Regions from separate parts of the Homo sapiens genome. Here region 1 is linked to region 2. The links are contacts of gene promoters, found by promoter capture Hi-C in blood cells and fetal thymus (Javierre and others, 2016). All regions are on one chromosome and are shown on one strand. Each heading gives the region's core, a stretch centred on a gene start or on the middle of the fragment in contact. The rest is flanking DNA. Distances are from core to core; before and after follow the strand shown.

Region 1 (3,464 bases), core at 433-2,932, 5.8 Mb after region 2:
AAAACATGCCATTTACAACATTAAGCTTAATACGACAAGTATTTGCATGTGGATCATTCACTTATTAATTGAGCCTCTACTATATGCAAGGCACTGGGCTGGGCAGTGAACAATACAGGCATCGTCCCTGTGCCTGATGTAGGAGCAGTTCCTGGAAATGGAGACAGACTCAGTGATTTGTTCACCACCATGATATGTGCTTCCAAGGATGAGTGAGCACTGCTCCCAAGGACAACGAAAGGTGCTTGCCTTAAAAGCGCAGGATCCAGAGGGTTCACTAAAATGGGTCTGGAACCAAGAATCCAACCCAAAGACATGTTCCTGTTTCCCTCTCTACAAAAGCAGGAAACATATTTCAGTTGGTTTACATCCACCAAACATGCAGAAAACCCTGATACACAATCAGGTTTTTTTTTAATGATTAGGAAAAAGAACATTTATGTGTCTGGTTTTTATTTTTATTTTATCAAAGAGGAGGCTAAAATGCTGGGCTCTCTGGCTTACTAGCAAATGCCTGATAACCCTAGTCGCCAATGCTAATGTTGATTGAGCTCTAGGCTAAACATAATACATATATTATCTTCTTTAATCCTCACATAATTTGGTGAGCTAGGGATTCTTATTGTCCTTAATTCACACTTGAAGAACGTGAGCCTTAGTCAAGTTAAGTAACTCCCTGAGGCCTGACATCTAGTAAGAGATGAGTTGGAATTTGAATTCAAGTAGTTAAATGCCAGACCAGAGCAGTTGCACTCTACAACCTCATTCTGAGGGAGGCGCTTTCCCAAGACAGGTCATTAGTCTGTAGATAAAAGGCGCAAAGTTAAGTTCCTAATGACTAAGAGTTTATTTACAAGTCAAATCCTTACTTTGCCAATTACTTTTATACTGGACACAAAATGCATCTCCTGTCCTGCTGGTCTTCCTGGTGTATCTTTCTTCTTCCAGGAGTCCTGAAAAGAGATTTTGGATTGATCTCTGGAAGTCAATATCCACTGCCAAAAAATAATTCCACATGCATCTGCAATCTGCCTGTCTGTGCCCTGCTACTCCGCAACCTTCTCAGTGCAGACGTTAAATCATTCACTCCTTGGGGCTGGGCGTGGTGGCTCATGCCTGTAATCCCAGCACTTCAGAAGGCCAAGTCAGGGCAATCACTTTAGGGAAGGAGTGTGAGACCAGCCTGGCCAACATGGTGAAAGCCCATCTCTACTATAAATACAAAAATTAGCTGGATGTGGTGACATGTACCTGTAATCCCAGCTACTCAGGAGACTGAGGCAGGAGAATCGCTTGAAAGCGGGAGGCAGAGGTTGCAGTGAGCCAAGATCGCACCACTGCACTCCAGCCTGGGCAACAGAGAGAGACTCCATCTCAAAAAAAAAAAAAAAAAAAAATCATTTATCCCTTGGATAGGCTTCCCCCACCCCACATTGACATATTTGATATATCTATGTCCATGATTAAAATGTACAGTTAGGGCCGGGGACGGTGGCTCACGCCTGTAATCCCAACACTTTAGGAGGCCGAGGCGGGCAGATCACCTGAGGTCGGGAGTTTGAGACCAGCCTGACCAACATGGAGAAACCCAGTCTCTACTAAAAATACAAAATTAGCTGGGCGTGGTGGCACGTGCCTGTAATCCCAGCTACTCCGGAGGCTGAGGCAGGAGAATCACTTGAACCCAGGAGGCGGAGGTTGCAGTGAGCCAAGATCACGCCATTGTTACCCAGCCTGGGTAACAAAAGCGAAACTCTGTCTCGAAAAAACCAACCAAACAAACAAAACAAATGTGCAATTAGTTATTTAGGACATTTAGCTTTGAATTCTTAGCTAAAACCTCCAGGTACTCACGGAACTGTCAGAAGTCTCAGAGGGAACCAGCAAAAACTGTTTCAGAAGGAGAAGTGGTAAATGGACTTCCTTCCATGTTCACTTGAATTTCGGGGAAGATACTGCTGCTTATGTTGAAGTAATCTCTATGGGCAGGTGTTGAAACAGGGCTGGCCTGAGGAGTGCCTAAGCAGGGCTGGTTTCCCAGAGCAGGGGCACTTGGAGCCAGCTTTGGAATAAAAGGTATCAGGACTGGTGAAGAAAAGGGGTAGAGTTCTAGGGAAGGAATGATCAGGAAAGTAATTCCCCAGCTGGAGACATTGGTCAAATAGGAAACTGGCCTGTGCCACATGCCCTGCTCTCCTCATTTTGCTCATTATCATAGTTCACCGCAGCCTCGAACTCCTGGGCTCAAGCAATCCTCCTGCCTCAGCCTCCCAAAGCTCTGGGATTATAGGTGTGAGCCACTGTGCTCGACCTAAGAAGTTCTTGAGAGGGGAAAATAACCTTTTGAAAATTGAAACTGAAACATAAAAAAAAGAAGACAAATTTTATCCCCTCCCACAAAAAGAATGAAAAGCTAGGTCTCTCTGCAGGAAATGGAAGACTGTCTTAGCTCAATGGATGTGTATAGCTGGAATCCATTGCTCTGAAGATTCCAGATTAATAGGAAGGAGGGCATTAGCAATGTTTTATAGGGCCCTTCCTAAGTTTGGTAGGCAGTGGGTCCCACTGATGCTCACATTCTAATCCCTGGAACCTGTGCATATGTTATTTTTACATGACAAAGGGGGTATTGCATATGTGATTAAGGTTAAGGACCCTGAGATGGAAGATTATCCTGGATTAAATGGTTGGGTCCACTCTAATCATATGGGTCCTTAAAAACTGAGCATCTTTTCCAGCCTAAGTCAGAGTCAGAGGAAGATGTGACCACAGAAGAATGGTCAGAGAGATGTAATGCTGCTAGCTTTGAAGATGGAGGAAGGGGGCCACAAGCCAAGGTATGTGGGTGGCCTCTAGAAGCTGGAAAAGGCAAAGAAACAAATTCTCCCGCAGAGTCTCTAGCAAGGAACACAGACATGCTGACACCTTGATTTTTAGCCCAGTGAGACCTGTGACAGACTTCTAACGTACAGAACTGTAAGATAATATGTCTGAGTCATTTTAAGCTACTCAATTTGTGGTGATTTGTTAAAGCAACAATGGAAAACTCATACACCATGGGACAGCAATATGAGGCAGACACTGCCATTGTCATTTACAGTCATTTAACTGACATATAAAAGAACTAGGTTCTTGCCCAATGTCACACAGCTGTCAAGTGATATTAATCCAAGAATTAATGTCTTCGGACACTGGTCTTCAGAGCTCATGCTCTAACTATTGCACAATACCACCTCCCAGGATGTTTGTGGGGAGGAGGCTGGAGGTAGGTTTCAAGTAAAAGCTCACTAAGGGTGAGTGAGTTACACAGCTGGATAAAGAGCTTGGTTGACTCAAAGGGAAGCTTTTCAAAGCCCTGGATTAATGTAGAGCAGAAAGTAGTTGTTCCTCAGGCTAGGTTTCCATTCTGTTCCTGTTTAGTCTTCCTTCCTCCCTGCTTTGATCATGACAAACTGGTTTACTCA
Region 2 (3,374 bases), core at 428-2,927:
GAGGATTTCTAAAAATCCTCATAAGTCAGCGGGCATAACTGAAAGACCACAGAACCAGGTTTACTGAGACATGGGTCTAGCCCAACATCCTCTGTGCTTCTCAGCCAATCCACCTCCAACAAGACTCCTCGCCTCCCTGGGCTCTTTATTCCATATAATTTTTCTTTTTTACAGTAGACAAAAGTGGTTTGTCCTTTCCATTTTATGTTACTAAAGAGGTATGATGCAATGTATTGGGGGGAAAAAAGCTCTTATTTGCTCGAAGAAAGCAATCTGACTACAGAGGCCAAATCTACAGACATTAAATGATTTAAACCACAGGATAACCCAGTGACTACCAAACATTATCTGACCCCTTTCTTCACGTACTATATTTTTCCTGAAGCTCAAATTCAGGGCTAGCCAGGACCAGTACACACCCCCAGAGCTATTTCATTCCATTGGCTGGCTGGCCATCCGCAGCCTACAACCTGTAAATTTACTGTCAGGACGCCAGGTGTTTATTTGTCAGAGATATTACATTGCTTGTGATTTTTTTGTGTTTTTCCTTTTTTTTGGTATAAAACAGAACTTGTCAGAATGGGAAAATTACTTAATTGAAACGATTAACGCGTGATTAGTAAATTCCTTTGGTTAATAAAACTGTCTAGATTTCAAACTTAGAAGCCAAGTCATTTTCTATGTTCGGATATCATCTGTCACTATTGGAACAGGAGTGAACAAATACCAGAAAATAATTTGACAGCTTGCATTTAGGGGAGACTCACAAAAGCCCAAGAACACTGACGAGGCATTATCACACGGGCAGGTCATTCCCTTTCCTAGAAGTGCATTTCGGCAGGACCCGCCGTGTGTGACACAGACACCGGGACCAAAAGGAGACCGGTGCAGCGTCTACTCTGCATGCAAGATCAGCATATACAGAGGCCCGGGGTGACGGCGCGGGGGAGGGGGCAGGCCAATCGCATGATGATTTTAAGGCGGAAAAATCACCATCCACAGAGCCGGCCACATCCGAGGCGGGGTGACCCGGGCGGGGACCCGGCCCGCTCCAGCTGGGCTGGGCTGGGCTGAGCAGCGGCCCCGCACCGGCAGGAGGCCGGAGGGGAGGGCCGCAGGGGAGGCAGGGAGGGCGGGACGGGGCCCGGCCGACGCTCACCTCCCTTGCAGGGCGTGCGGTGCTGGCTGTGCTGGGCCCGGTAGCCTTCGATGACCTCCCAGGAGCCGTCGTCGCGCCGGATGGGGAAGGAGAGACTCAGCACATGGTTGCAGGGCTTGATGATCCGCAGGATGCCGCGCACCCGGTTCCGCTTCTGCTCCTCGCTCTCCCGGGTCCTCAGGTCCTCCACCAGCTTGTCCTCCACGATGCTGGCGCCGCGATCGAAGAAGCCCTCCACCATCTTGAAGAAGTTGGGGTCGTCCTCGCGGTCGGCCACCGCCTCGCTGTAGTGGCGCCGGGCGGCCAATGCCAGCCCCGGCTGCGGGGCGGCGGCGGGCTGTCCCCGGGCCCAGCCCAGCAACGCGGCCGAGTCGGCGGACGCCGAGCCCAGGGCAGCGGGCCCGGCCCGGGACAGCAACAGCGCTTCGCCCAGGTAGCGGTACATGGCCACAAGCGGAGGGGAGGTGCGTGATGGTCGCGAAACAGGCGCGCTTTCTCAGACTCCCCGCGACTAGGGAGGAAGGGTCCCGCGCGGGTTGCCCTTTTAAGCCGCAGCTTCCTGCTTGCCCGGCTGTCCCCTCCCCTCGGGCGCTCGCCACCTAACGGGGAGGACGGACTTCGGGGACAGGGCGCCGCCCAGGGCGCCGGGCCTCCGCCTCCGCCGCGGCCTCCCCGGGCCTCGCTGGCGGCAGCGCGCGCCGGCGGGGCGTCGGGGGCGCGCAGGCGCGGGCGGGCTCGGCGCGCACGCTCGCGCGCCAGTGGGGAAGGGAGGGGAGGGGAGAGGAAGGGCGGGGAGGAGAGTGGAGGGGAACGGACGGGAGGGGCAGGGAGGGGAAGGTCGGGGCGGGTCGGGGCGGGTCGGGGCGGGCCCACGGGCGGCCGGATTTGCCCGGAGGCCGCACCCGCCTCCGGCGGGGCTCTCAGGTATGTGCGCCGCGGGGGTCCCTCAGGGGGGTTGGGGGTAGCCCAGGGAGGTCGGGGTCGGGGGCTGGCCTCTGTAGGGCGCTCAGAGGCCGAGTCCCCCCGAGCGCCGCGTGGGTGAGGCTTGGCGGTCTGGTCGGGGACCGGGTCATGTGAGTCACGGGCGCCCCTCCTTTCCGCCCGCGCGCCCTCGGAACGGGCGGCCCACCCTGGCCTGTCCTCTGGCGGCCTCAGGCCGGGGCCGGGCGTGCAGGGGCTGACACGTGGGCAGGAAAGCGAGGCAGAGCCGCCGCCGCGTAAGGCCGGGCTGAGGGCTCGGCGTCACCAGCCAGGGCTGCAGAGAGCGGCGTGGCACCCGGAGTTGGATTATGCGTGGCTGGCGTGAGCTGGAAGGGAGTCACTCGCCCACAAGCTCTCACCACGCGAGCTTTTATTGTCCCGTTCAACTGCTCCGCAGTGTGGAGATCGCATAGTTACGCACGTCGTGGTTGTGTCGCCCCACAGTACTGACTGCTTCACCTTTGCAGACAGAGGCTCCGGCCCGGCGCGGTGGCTCACGCCTTTAGTCCTAGCACTTTGGGAGGTCGAGGCTGGAGGATGGCTTGAGCCCAGGAGTTCGAGGCTGCAGTGAGCTACGATAGCTCCACTGCACCCCAGCCTGGGCAACAGAGGGAGACCCTATCTCCCTCTGAAATAGTCTAAAATAAGGAAACTAGAAATGCGATAATGCCCCCAGGAAATTCTTTCTCAGGAATATATGTATTTGTTAAATGGTTCAGTATATGATTTATTTTTTATTTTATTTATTTATTTGAGATGGAATCTTGCTCTGTCGCCCAGGCGGGAGTGTAGTGGCACCATCTCGGCTCACTGCAGCTTCCACCTCCCTGGGTTCGTTCTAGCGATTCTCCTGCCTCAGCCTCGGGGTAGCTGGGATTACAGGCCCGCGCCACCACGCCCGGCTAATTTTTGCATTTTTAGTAGAGACGGGGTTTCGCTGTGCTGGCCAGGCTGGTCTCCAACGCCTGACCTCAAGTGATCCGCCCGCCTAGGCCTCCCAGAATGCTGGGATTACAGACGTGAGCCACCGCGCCTGGCCTCAGTATATGATTTATAAGCTTTATGCTGTATGAGGGTTCAGTTATGTATTTATACATACTTGATAGGAAATGCTAAAGTTCACATTCCTATGGATAGCTTTTGGTGCTTTTCAAACTAACGAGGCTGGCACGGTGGCTCACGCCTGTAATCCCAGCACTTTGGGGGCCAAAGCAGGCTGATCGCTTGAGGCCAG

Evidence for each region. The method cuts DNA at HindIII sites, captures the fragments that hold promoters and counts their contacts. A CHiCAGO score of 5 or more calls a contact.
Region 1: a fragment that was not itself captured here is called in contact with the fragment with the promoter of GLUD1 in region 2 in 1 of 17 cell types (fetal thymus); the score reaches 8.4 in fetal thymus.

Annotation. Positions count from the first base shown.
Region 1 is chr10:92,844,177-92,847,640 of GRCh38, forward strand. It overlaps a transcript of EXOC6 not described here. Among named protein-coding and RNA genes, the nearest start is that of EXOC6, 2.6 kb to the right of the region's middle. The HindIII fragment of the contact is 3,318 bases long and covers 24-3,341 here.
Region 2 is chr10:87,093,166-87,096,539 of GRCh38, forward strand. It overlaps GLUD1 (glutamate dehydrogenase 1), which reads right to left and starts at 1,678. Exons shown (of 13, transcript NM_005271.5): 1 at 1,160-1,678. The coding sequence starts at 1,604. It overlaps SHLD2 (shieldin complex subunit 2), which reads left to right and starts at 2,041. Exons shown (of 10, transcript NM_001330112.2): 1 at 2,041-2,083. RefSeq lists enhancers at 1-227, 2,632-2,691 and silencers at 912-1,251, 1,452-1,591, 1,712-2,411, 2,332-2,589. The HindIII fragment of the contact is 4,292 bases long and covers 1-3,196 here.